Linked DNA regions of Homo sapiens: regions 2 and 3 are each linked to region 1. Evidence: promoter capture Hi-C in 16 types of primary human blood cells and fetal thymus (Javierre and others, 2016). All regions are on one chromosome and are shown on one strand. Each heading gives the region's core, a stretch centred on a gene start or on the middle of the fragment in contact. The rest is flanking DNA. Distances are from core to core; before and after follow the strand shown.

The links. Contacts are between HindIII fragments. The CHiCAGO score rates a contact against its expected background, and 5 or more counts as called.
Region 2: a fragment that was not itself captured here is called in contact with the fragment with the promoter of RBFOX2 in region 1 in 1 of 17 cell types (endothelial precursors); the score reaches 6.6 in endothelial precursors.
Region 3: a contact is called between a fragment that was not itself captured here and the fragment with the promoter of RBFOX2 in region 1, in 1 of 17 cell types (endothelial precursors). The highest score is 8.6, in endothelial precursors.

Annotation. Positions count from the first base shown.
Region 1 is chr22:36,026,985-36,030,388 of GRCh38, forward strand. RBFOX2 (RNA binding fox-1 homolog 2) reads right to left here and starts at 1,840. Exons shown (of 14, transcript NM_001349999.2): 1 at 1,256-1,840. The coding sequence starts at 1,441. RefSeq lists a silencer at 2,006-2,075. The HindIII fragment of the contact is 7,441 bases long and covers 1-3,404 here.
Region 2 is chr22:35,940,032-35,943,435 of GRCh38, forward strand. The region is part of intron 1 of RBFOX2 (RNA binding fox-1 homolog 2); the gene reads right to left. Among named protein-coding and RNA genes, the nearest start is that of RBFOX2, 87 kb to the right of the region's middle. The HindIII fragment of the contact is 3,380 bases long and covers 132-3,404 here.
Region 3 is chr22:35,957,820-35,961,223 of GRCh38, forward strand. All of the region lies in intron 1 of RBFOX2 (RNA binding fox-1 homolog 2), which reads right to left. Among named protein-coding and RNA genes, the nearest start is that of RBFOX2, 69 kb to the right of the region's middle. The HindIII fragment of the contact is 651 bases long and covers 1,165-1,815 here.

The DNA.
Region 1 (3,404 bases), core at 590-3,089:
AGGAATAGGAATTAGAAGACCAGGCTTCTAGTTCTAGTTTTACTATTAGCTAACTGGGTGGCCTTACCCAAGTCACCATCTTCTCTGGACTTCTGATTCCCCATCTATAAAATAAGGTGGTTAAAACAAGCTGGGACTTGAATCTCCTCCAAAAAAAACAAAGATGAAAACTATTGACTCTCCTCCACCAAAAAGTGCACATCACCTACTATGAGTAAGAATCTTCCAAGTCTTCCCAGGTTAAGAACCCCTGGAAAAGATGATGTCTAGTCCTCCTAGCATCCCTCTAACATCCTATGACTCCGAGAGAATTAGGCACAAGTCTGCACAACTGTTGGTAGGTGAGACTCATCATGTCATAGCAGTATTTTCTGGGCAAAGACCAAATCGTAAAACCTCCAAAGGTTTCAAGGTCTTCTTCAAAACTATGAAGTCAGCTGACATCAATACCTTTCCCATTCCCTACCCAAATTAACCACGTTTATCTTTCAATCCAGAATTGAGAATCCAGTCTTCTAATAGCCCTATAAAAAAATTTTTTTTATAGCCCGGGACATTAAAGAGCTATTTTGTGTCCTGGTGATGTAGAATGCAATTGGCAAAGAACAGGAGGGACATGTCTAGTGTCTCCCTTCAGACTCATTAGTATGCTCCACAAAGTAAATGAGACTGAGCACCACCGTGTCCCCATAACATTACCAAACTCCTTGTACTTCTCACACTCTGTGTGATTTAACCCACAATCTCAGCCACATCCCCTCGGGGCTCTCTCGAGGAGTTTTCTTTTCACTCCTCTCATTGAAATGCCACTTCTCTTCCCCATCCCAGCGTGTGCCCAGGGCTGCCAAAAGGTACTCCCTCTTCTCGGGAGGTTTCCCACCAGATCTCCTTTTCCTCGACTCAGTCCAGAGAAGCCAGGATTTCCCGGCTTCCACTCCACCCCAAGGCACTAAGGAAGGATTTGAAAAAATGGAATCCATCTCAACCTTGTTCGATTTCCCCCCAAAACCTATCCACTCGTCGTGCCTCCTGGCCCCTCAGGAATCAGGACCCTCTCGGGCACACCAGGTTCAGTCCTGCAACCTTCGTTCCTAGCCCGAGCTCGCCCCACCTTCCAACCAGGCCCCGAATGGCCCCCCATCCCACCTCCAACCCAGGACTCCCGGAGGCCCTCCCTCTCTCCAAGCCGGGGAGCCCGGTGTCGACCCTCACGCCCACCCCCGCAATAACTGGGCGCCCCGTCCCGCGCGGTCACCTGCATCCCGCCGCCACCGTCGGCCGCCGCCTCCTCAGTGCGCGGCCGCTTGCTCAGGCCGGGATCGGCTCCGTCTCCTCCCGCTCCGGGCACCGGCAGCTCCAGCTCCGACTCCCGCTTCATGCCCCGGGCGGCGGCGCCGGGCCCGAGCTGAGGCGGCTGATGCGGCTGGGCGCCCTCCGCCATCCGCCCGCGCCCCCCTCGCCTCCGGGAGCCGGGCGACCCGCGACAGGCCACCTCCCCCTGGGCCTCGGCCCCGACTGTCGCGACAGGCGGGCGCGCGCCTGCCCCCGCCCCCGCGTGCGTGCGTGCGTGCGCGCGAGCGGACTCCGCGCCCCTCCGCGCCTCGCGGCCGCCGCTCCTTGCCTGACCGCTTGCTCCCCGCCCGCCCGCCCGCCGGGTTGTCGGCGCGGGGCCACTGGCGGGTCGTGATGAGCACTCGCTCGCGCCCCCGCACGCACACGCGAAACCCGGCCCGGCCCGCCGCGCCGCCCCGCCTCTCGCACTCCCGGAGCTCGCCCACCGGCCGCGCTGGCTCACACTCTCCCTCACAGCACGCCGGCCGAGGGAGGAAGGGGGCGGTCCGGGCTCCCGAGGCGTGGGGAGGGCTGTTTATTTTGGGGGGAGGAGGGGCGCGAGGCAGGAACGAGCTGACTGGCCGGGATCCTCCGACCCGCCACTGTGGCAGCACCGGGAAGGCGGGGAGAGAGAAAGAGGGAGGGAGGGAGGGACCGGGATGTAGAACTCCAGCCCGCGCGGGAGGCTACGGCGAGGGGGGCGGTGGCGGCCCGCGGGGGGGGCGGGGCCAGGCCCCCTCGGCAATCTCCGTAGTCTCCTCGCTGGCTGCCCGAGGGAGGCCGGGAAGCGATCGGGGAAGCTCGGGAATCTCCGGCACGGGCCTGGGATTGTCCTGGAGGCACAGCGCGGCTGGAGTGCGGGGCAGCGCGGGGGGGGCGGGGTCTGTCTCCTTTCTGGGCGGGGCCGTATCCTGGAGCAGGCGGGGCTTGAGAGACCCGAAGGCCAGGGAGTGGCTCCTGCTTGCGGTACTAGTTGTACAGAGTTAAGTCCTGAGTTTACTCGCCTGAGCACCTTGGTTCCCGGAGAGGGAATGGGCACTCTGTGAGAGGCAGGCTATTTGCCTGCTTCCCCTCCCGCAGAAGAAAAAATGTCTCAAATTGGAAGGTCGAGGAATGAAGCCACCCCTCTATGGTTCACCCCAGTTCTGAGAGCTTTTACTCTAATATAACTCACATTCCTAATGAAGTTAGTAATAATACCCGATGTTTGTAAGAGCTTTAGAGTTTGCACAATGCATCCACAGACCCGTTTCAAACTGGTGATATAAGTAGATACCATGATCTCCATTTCATTGATGATGAAACTGAACCTTAGTTAAATCCTGCAGCAAAAAAGTGGCAGATCCGGAATTCAGAACACGAGAACATATTCTCTTTCTTCGTACCTTGCTGCCTGAGGAGCACTTTATGACTTACCAACTTCGTGGAGATAGAGATATCTGTGCAATAGATTCTCTCCCCTACCAGACTGTGAGGACAAGGACTGCAGTGACTTCCTCTGAGTTCCATATCGTGCCCTGTACGTTATAGAAATAAAAGGATATTGCGTGAATAACCTGGATTCTAATCTTGGCTTTGCTAACTAGCTTAAACAAGTTACTTCATCTCTTTGGACCTCAGCTCCATCATTTGTAAAATGAGATGGTTTGGATCAGTGGCTTTCAACCAAGGAGAAATTTTGCCATTCCACCACCTCCACTCCCACATTTGTCAGTGACTGAAGGCATTTTTTTTTTTTTTTTTTTTTTTTTTTTTGAGACAGAGTCTCGCTCTGTCGCCCAGGCTTAAGTGCAGTGGCGCGATCTCGGCTGACTGCAACCTCTGCCTCCTGGGTTCAAGCGATTCTCCTGCCTCAGCCTCCCCAGTAGCTGGGACTACAGGTGTGCGCCACCAACTAATTTTTGTATTTTTAGTAGAGATGGGGTTTCACCATGTTGGCCAGGCTGGTCTCGAACTCCTGACTTCAGGTGATCCGCCTGCCTCGGCCTCCCAAAGTGCTGAGATTACAGGAGTTAGCTGCCGCGCCTGGCCGACTGAAGGCATTTTTGATTGTTACAGTGGGGAGGTGCTGC
Region 2 (3,404 bases), core at 572-3,071, 87 kb before region 1:
GAACAGCGTAAAAGAAATTTTCATTGATAGGACTTTTGAATATAACAATAGAGTAAACTTTCCACTAATTGGTAGGTTGACTATATTCAGATATTTGATAGTCAAAAGCATGGAAGTCTGAAGACAACTTAAGCTTACTGCAGAGACCCTGTGTCTTGTTCATCATGGTTTCCCTGAGATCTAGCACAGTATCTAACACATGTAGACACCCAAAAGAATGTGTAATAAATAAATGGAGCTAAATAACCAGAAAATGTGTAGGAATTCAGACAGTTCTGCAAAAGAGATGTGCAAATGGCCAGTAAGTACATGAAGAGATGCTCAACATCATAAGTCATTATGCAAATCAAAACCACATTGAGATAAAACTCACACTCATCAGAATGGTTATAAACAAAATGCCAGACAACAATAAGTATTGTCAAAGACATGGAGAAATCAGAATTCTTCTACACTGCGGGTGGGAATGTAAAATGGTATAGCTGCTCTGGAAACAGTTGGATAGTCCTTCTATTAAACATAGAGTTATATGACCCAGCAATTCCACACCTGGGTATGTAACTAAGAAAACTGAAAACATATGTCCACACAAAATAATATACATGAATGTTCATAGCAGCATTATTTCATAATAACCAAACAGCAGAAAAAAACCAAAATGTCCGTCGATTGATGAATGGATAAATGAAGTATGGTACATCCATAGTGGAATATTATTCAGTAATTTTAAAAATAAAGTACAGATACAACACAGATGAATACTGAAAACACCATGCTTGAAAACAGACACAAAAGGCCACAAATTATATAATTTGATTTGTATGAAATATCAAGAATAGGCAGATTATTCATAGAGGCAGAATATAAATTAGTGGTTCCAGGGACTAGCGGGAAGAAATGAGCAGTGACTGCTAACGGCTACCAGGTTTATCTGGAGGGAGATGACAATGTTCTGGAGTTAGATTTTAGTGATGGATGCACACATCCATTATTATATTAAAAACCACTGAAACACTAAAAGCACTTCATAAATGCGAGATTTATGGTCTGTGAATTATATCTCATTAAATCTGTTATTTAAAAATAATAATAGTTATAGGCAATGTTGGCTATTTTTCATACTGATTTTTATAGGGGAGACATGCAGTTTAGATTTTAACAAAAGAACAAGGCTCTTTCCGAAATGCACAAGTGCCTTTTGTTTGTTCTGGATTCTATAAATTTACTTCCACACACCATTCTCTACAAATTTTAACAATGATGATGATAACCCCCCAGTTATTAAGCACCTAATCAGTACAGTTCCAGGATGGTGGAAAAGAGGAAGAGATAGAGGCAAAAAGAATGAGATAATATAGCAGTATACAAAAATATATTTCCTATCACTGGGGAAACTAACTGAAAGAAGGTAAGTAACTGGCCCAATAACACATAGATATTGAATGGGAAATTCAAACTGCCAACCTGTGTCTGCTGGACTACAAACCCCTGTTCTTTCCATTTTTCCAGGTTCTCATCCCTACTAATGATTCCATATTATTCCCTTACAATAAACATTTCATGATTGTCTGAGAAGGGGATTATCTGATTAAGAAAGTAATCAAAAACCCCAAAAGCATATTAACAGAAATTCATCACTCCCAGAGGACATCCCACATATGAACCATATTCCATAAAATCCTGGAGTTCAACAATGAAAAAAATATAAGGAAAAGATCACATTCGTATAAGCCAGTATTGTCAAAAACTTCAATAGAAAAGTTGGTCATAACAGGTTGCACAGAGATGTGTCAGAGGAAATGGATTTACTCCTCCACCTGCCTTAGCACTCTTCTTTATTTCCTACCTCTCAGATAAGGCTATTTGGAACTCTCAAGCCCTCCCTGTATATATCTGTCTCTTACAAATGCATTAATTTTGCGTGATTTTGAATTTTACAGGCATGGATCCTATTGCAGGTATTCTTCAGTAATTTGGCATTTTTGCTCAATACTATGTAAGATTCACCTCCACTAGGGCACATAACTGTATTTTACTATGATTGCCATTTAGTATTCTCTTATAAACTATAAACATGTCAAATAAATTACTTATCTGTCCTATTTTCCTGTTAATGGATAATTGAATTGTTTCCACTTAATGGTTTTTGTGCTCACACCATGCTGCCTACGAACATTCTTTTAGATTTGAGATACCATGTTTTACATATGAGATTAGCAAAAATGAAAACACCATGAATAGGCAAAAAGATGAGTCAATAGATACTCTCACACCTAATAGTAGGAATATAAGTATATTGGGATGCTGTTATGGAAAGTAATTTGGCAGTACTATCAAAATATTGAATGCATATACCTTCCTGTAACTTCACATCTCTATCTAGACAAAGAAGCATGTGCGAAGATTTTCAAAACAGTGTTGTTTGCCTTAGTGAAAAACTAGGAAAAAAAACCTCAGTTTCCATTAATAATAAGGTAATAGTGTTATCAATTATTGCAAAATTTCAACATCCCACCTGCAAGGTTTTTAAAATAAGGTAAAATCTTTATAAATGACCTCAGGTCATATTAAATGACAGCAGAACAGAACACTCAAGCAGAAATGGCTAGCTACACAGAAGGCTCAGGCAGGAGGATCACTCAAGCCCTGGAGTTTGAGATAGCCTGGGCAGCACAGCGACATCCCATCTCTTAAAAAAAAAAAAAAAGGTAACTAAATGCATCGAAAATATAAAGAAGGATATATAACAAACTTCTAATAGTGGTTACCTCTAGGGAGAAGAATAAGATTTGTGGAAGGTTGAAAGGACATGTTTTACCCAAATTTTACATTGTGTAAAATTCACATATGACTTAGAATAAAGCTGTTGTCAGTGTTTCTTACTGCTTTATAACTTATAAAACCAACTATATATCTCACTTAGTCCTCACAATGCATAAAACAAGTTTTATAAATGTCATTTTACAGATGACAAAACTGAATTTCAGACACTTTAAGTGATTTGCTCATAATCAAATAACTAATGACAGTGGCTGAGATGCCTCCAGACTTAGGTCTTGATTCTATACCCAATACTTCTACTACTTCATGACAACTATTAGGCTGGTGCAAAATTAAAGTAATGGTAAAAACCGCAACTATTTTGTGCCAGTCGAATAGTGGGAAAGATTTGCCTCGTCTGGTCAGAGATGATTATGATTATCTAATGATATGCAAGTCTGAGTTTTTAATCAGCATAAAAACAATAACTGGCATTTAAAGCAGAGATGAAATTACAAGAAAAGCTACTGGAACAGACAAGATGGAAATCAGATGTGTTAGAAGTCCAAAAAGAAAAGGTTTTAGTAGCGATATGTCTATAAGCAAGCATTATTGGCCTATTAAGAATGAAAGAAACGGACTCT
Region 3 (3,404 bases), core at 240-2,739, 70 kb before region 1:
CTAACAGACACAATTATGTGAATACTCATTATGACTAAATATGCCAATTGATAACCACCAACAAATCAGTTTGTGTTGTGATATTTCAATTTAAACTGGTGTTTCACTAAACTGAAGACTTCACAAGCTTTGGCATTTAAAAAAACAAAAGATACCTCTTAATTAGCCTCAGAGTATAAAAGAAATACATTTCAAAGGATCATTCTGCAACATTCAAAAAAGTCCCTTTAAGACAGGCTGAGTTGACTATCACAGTCTAAATTTAAATTAACAATTCTACCCCAAAAAAAGTCATTATAGACAAAATAATAAATTTTATTTTAATTGATAGACATTATTTCAATTGAGTTTTATAACAGTCTCTTCACTCACATTGCTATTGAACATGATGTTAAACCAGCTCTGGTGTTTATTAGAGGAACAACTTAGGACAAGTTACTCACCTTTCTGGGCCTCAATTTTATTTTCTGGTCTATAAAATATATGTGATCATGTCTACACCTTGCAAGGATGTTAAGTTTAGGCACAAGGTATACAAAGCACCTGAAAGTATACCTACCCCATAGAGAAAAACTATTATTGTAACAATTTTTATTATATGCTTTGAGTTCACAATCCTGCCTATCCCTAAGTCCATTAAGATCTGGGTAAAACTGGACTTTTCTATTTCCTCCTGCTGCTGTTGCTTCCAATGCCCTACTGGCTACAACTGCCAACTCTCTGACCTAGACTCTCTGCCACCTACTACTAGTGTCCTCAGAGCAAGTCCCTGAACTTCCTTTTATTGTATTAATTCCCTGGTCAGAAAGAAGATAATGCTCATTACTTACCAATTCAGTGATCTTCTGATAATTACCACGTTAATTCTTGCTTGGAACCAATCTAAAAGACTTCAAACAACTTCAAACCTACCGAGGATTTTTTTTCTTGATGCCAAGTTTTAAAAACCAGGAATTACATTTTTTTAAACAAATGGTCAACTATTAAGAATTCATAAAAGAGCTGCCTGTCATATCTCGTTATACTTTGATTCCTGTATCAACTCAATTACTCAAATCCTTTAGTTCTTCATCTTCTAGCCCTCTTAGATAATAGTCTCCATTAAGTAAAAGGCATTTTGCAGAAACAGATAGAGAAAACTATATATATATATATATTGTGTAAAGCTTAGTTTTCTGCAAGTACAATTAAATACTCAAGATAGCTGGGAGAAGGGCAAGAAGAGCCCACAGAGATGAGATGGTACTGAGACTCCACTGGTGGCCCTTTCTAAGGGACTAGAACTACACTACAGATTTATCAATGAAAGGTTGAAGGCAAGGGAAAAGGAAAAGCCAGTGACATATGCAGGCACTGCAATGCGCTAGATAATTGATATACATTATTTCTGGGTATTATTTCCATTATCAGGTGAGGAGAGTCAGACTCAGAGAGATTAAGTGACTGGATCCAGGCCAAATAGCTAGTAAACAGTAGAGCCAGAGCCATAATTATAACTGTTCTTTCTGTTACATGTTACGCAGCAGTTTAGTCCAGAAAAGCATTTACCCCTAGGCCAAGAAATAGGGAAGGTAAGTGTATGATTATCTATACACTGGTTTAGCCACACTGTTTCCCTTCCAGCAATGGGAAAAATGGAGAGATAATTCATCTTTAACCTGCGGTTATCACCCAATTATTCCCATTGGTAGAAGAAAAGCAGTGCTTCTCAAATGTTAGCATGCAGACAGGTCACTAGGTATCTTGTTAAAATGTAGATTCTGATTCAGTAGGTCTACAGTGGCGTCTGAGATTTCTGCATCTACCAGGAAATGAAGCTTCTAGTGCTGGGGCCATACTGTAAACAGATTATACTCAATAGTTCCCAATCTTGACCGATCATTTGAATCACCTGGGAATAATCTAAAAACTACAGATTTCCCTCCTTGATTCAGTAGTGTCTGGAATGAGGTCCAGGTTGACTTCAATACAGTCATCCCTTGATGTCCATGGGGGACTGTTTTGAGGACCCCTCTCAGACACCAAAATCCACAGATGCTCAAGTCCCTGATGTATAATAGCACAGTATTTACATATAACCTATGTATATCCTCCCAGAGATTTTAAATCATCTCCAGATCACTTATAATACCTAATACAGTGTAAATGCTACGTAGTTATTTAGTATTTTTATTTGTATTATTTTTATTGTTGCATTGTTATTTTTTTTCTGAATTATTTTCAATCCGTGGTTGGTTGAATGCACAGATGTGGACCCCACAGATACAATACGCCAACTGTACAGAACAGGGACTACTGAGCTATACTATCTCCAGGCACATTCTACCTCAGAATTCTGTAATTCAAAGAAATATATAATTATTACCGACAATAATCACAGCAAGCACTGACTGAGAACACACCAAATGTCTAAGAGCTTTATATATTAGCTTACTTAGTCCTCAAACCACACTGTGAGGTTGGTACTCACAGCACTATCATTCCCATTTTACACATGAGGAAGCCAACGCACCAAGAGACTAACTTGTCCAAGGTCAGTGAGTGAACTGCAGAACAGGGGTTCAGACTTGAACCAACCCGATTTCAAAGAGTCTGTGCCCTCAGACACACCATCTAAAGCTGCTTCCCACATTACCCAATGGTAATGTCACTGATTTTAACAGACACACTTGAACAAATAAATCCAAATGGGTCACCTCAGAAGATGTCGCCCTGGGAAGGCTATGTTCTTATTCCTCAGATGCTACCATCATTCAAAACACGGCCACTGCTAAACTAAACATTTAAAGAGCCCTTGATCTGAAAATGAAAATGCCTTCAGAGCCTAAACCCATGACTTTAAGTATCTTCAAATGGGGTAAAAGCTCACCATTTGAGCACAGATTTGACTTTTTGACAACACCACAAAATCACGAAGAGCCAATTCGAAGAAACCTAGTGTCTTTCAAAAACCTAGGTAGGTATTTTTTTAAATAAAAAAATTCAGTGTTAGGTATTGAAAACGTTTTCCTCATCACTCATCTCTAAAGCCGATTCCGAATGAGAGTTCCTCAGGTTTTGCGCAATGGTTGTATCACCAACCAAGGTGACTATTTTGAAGGGCAATATTCATTTGGATGCACAGGTTCTGTTATATTTGTTTAAAAAAAAAAAGCAGCCTCTTAGTCATACCAAAAGAAACACATTTGCCCTTCACTATCAGCACAAACATGCATATGTTCAGAACAACTGTCTTGAAGCATGCAGTTTTCCTTTCTGCTGAAAAAGCAACTGCTTTGATATTCTTTTCAGATTATTTTTAAGTGTGTTTTATTTATATACACCCATCCATATAAAAAAAATACCATCAGCAGGCATTAATGAAGCATTTAACTGCATGCAGCACCATAAAAGGTATTGTACAA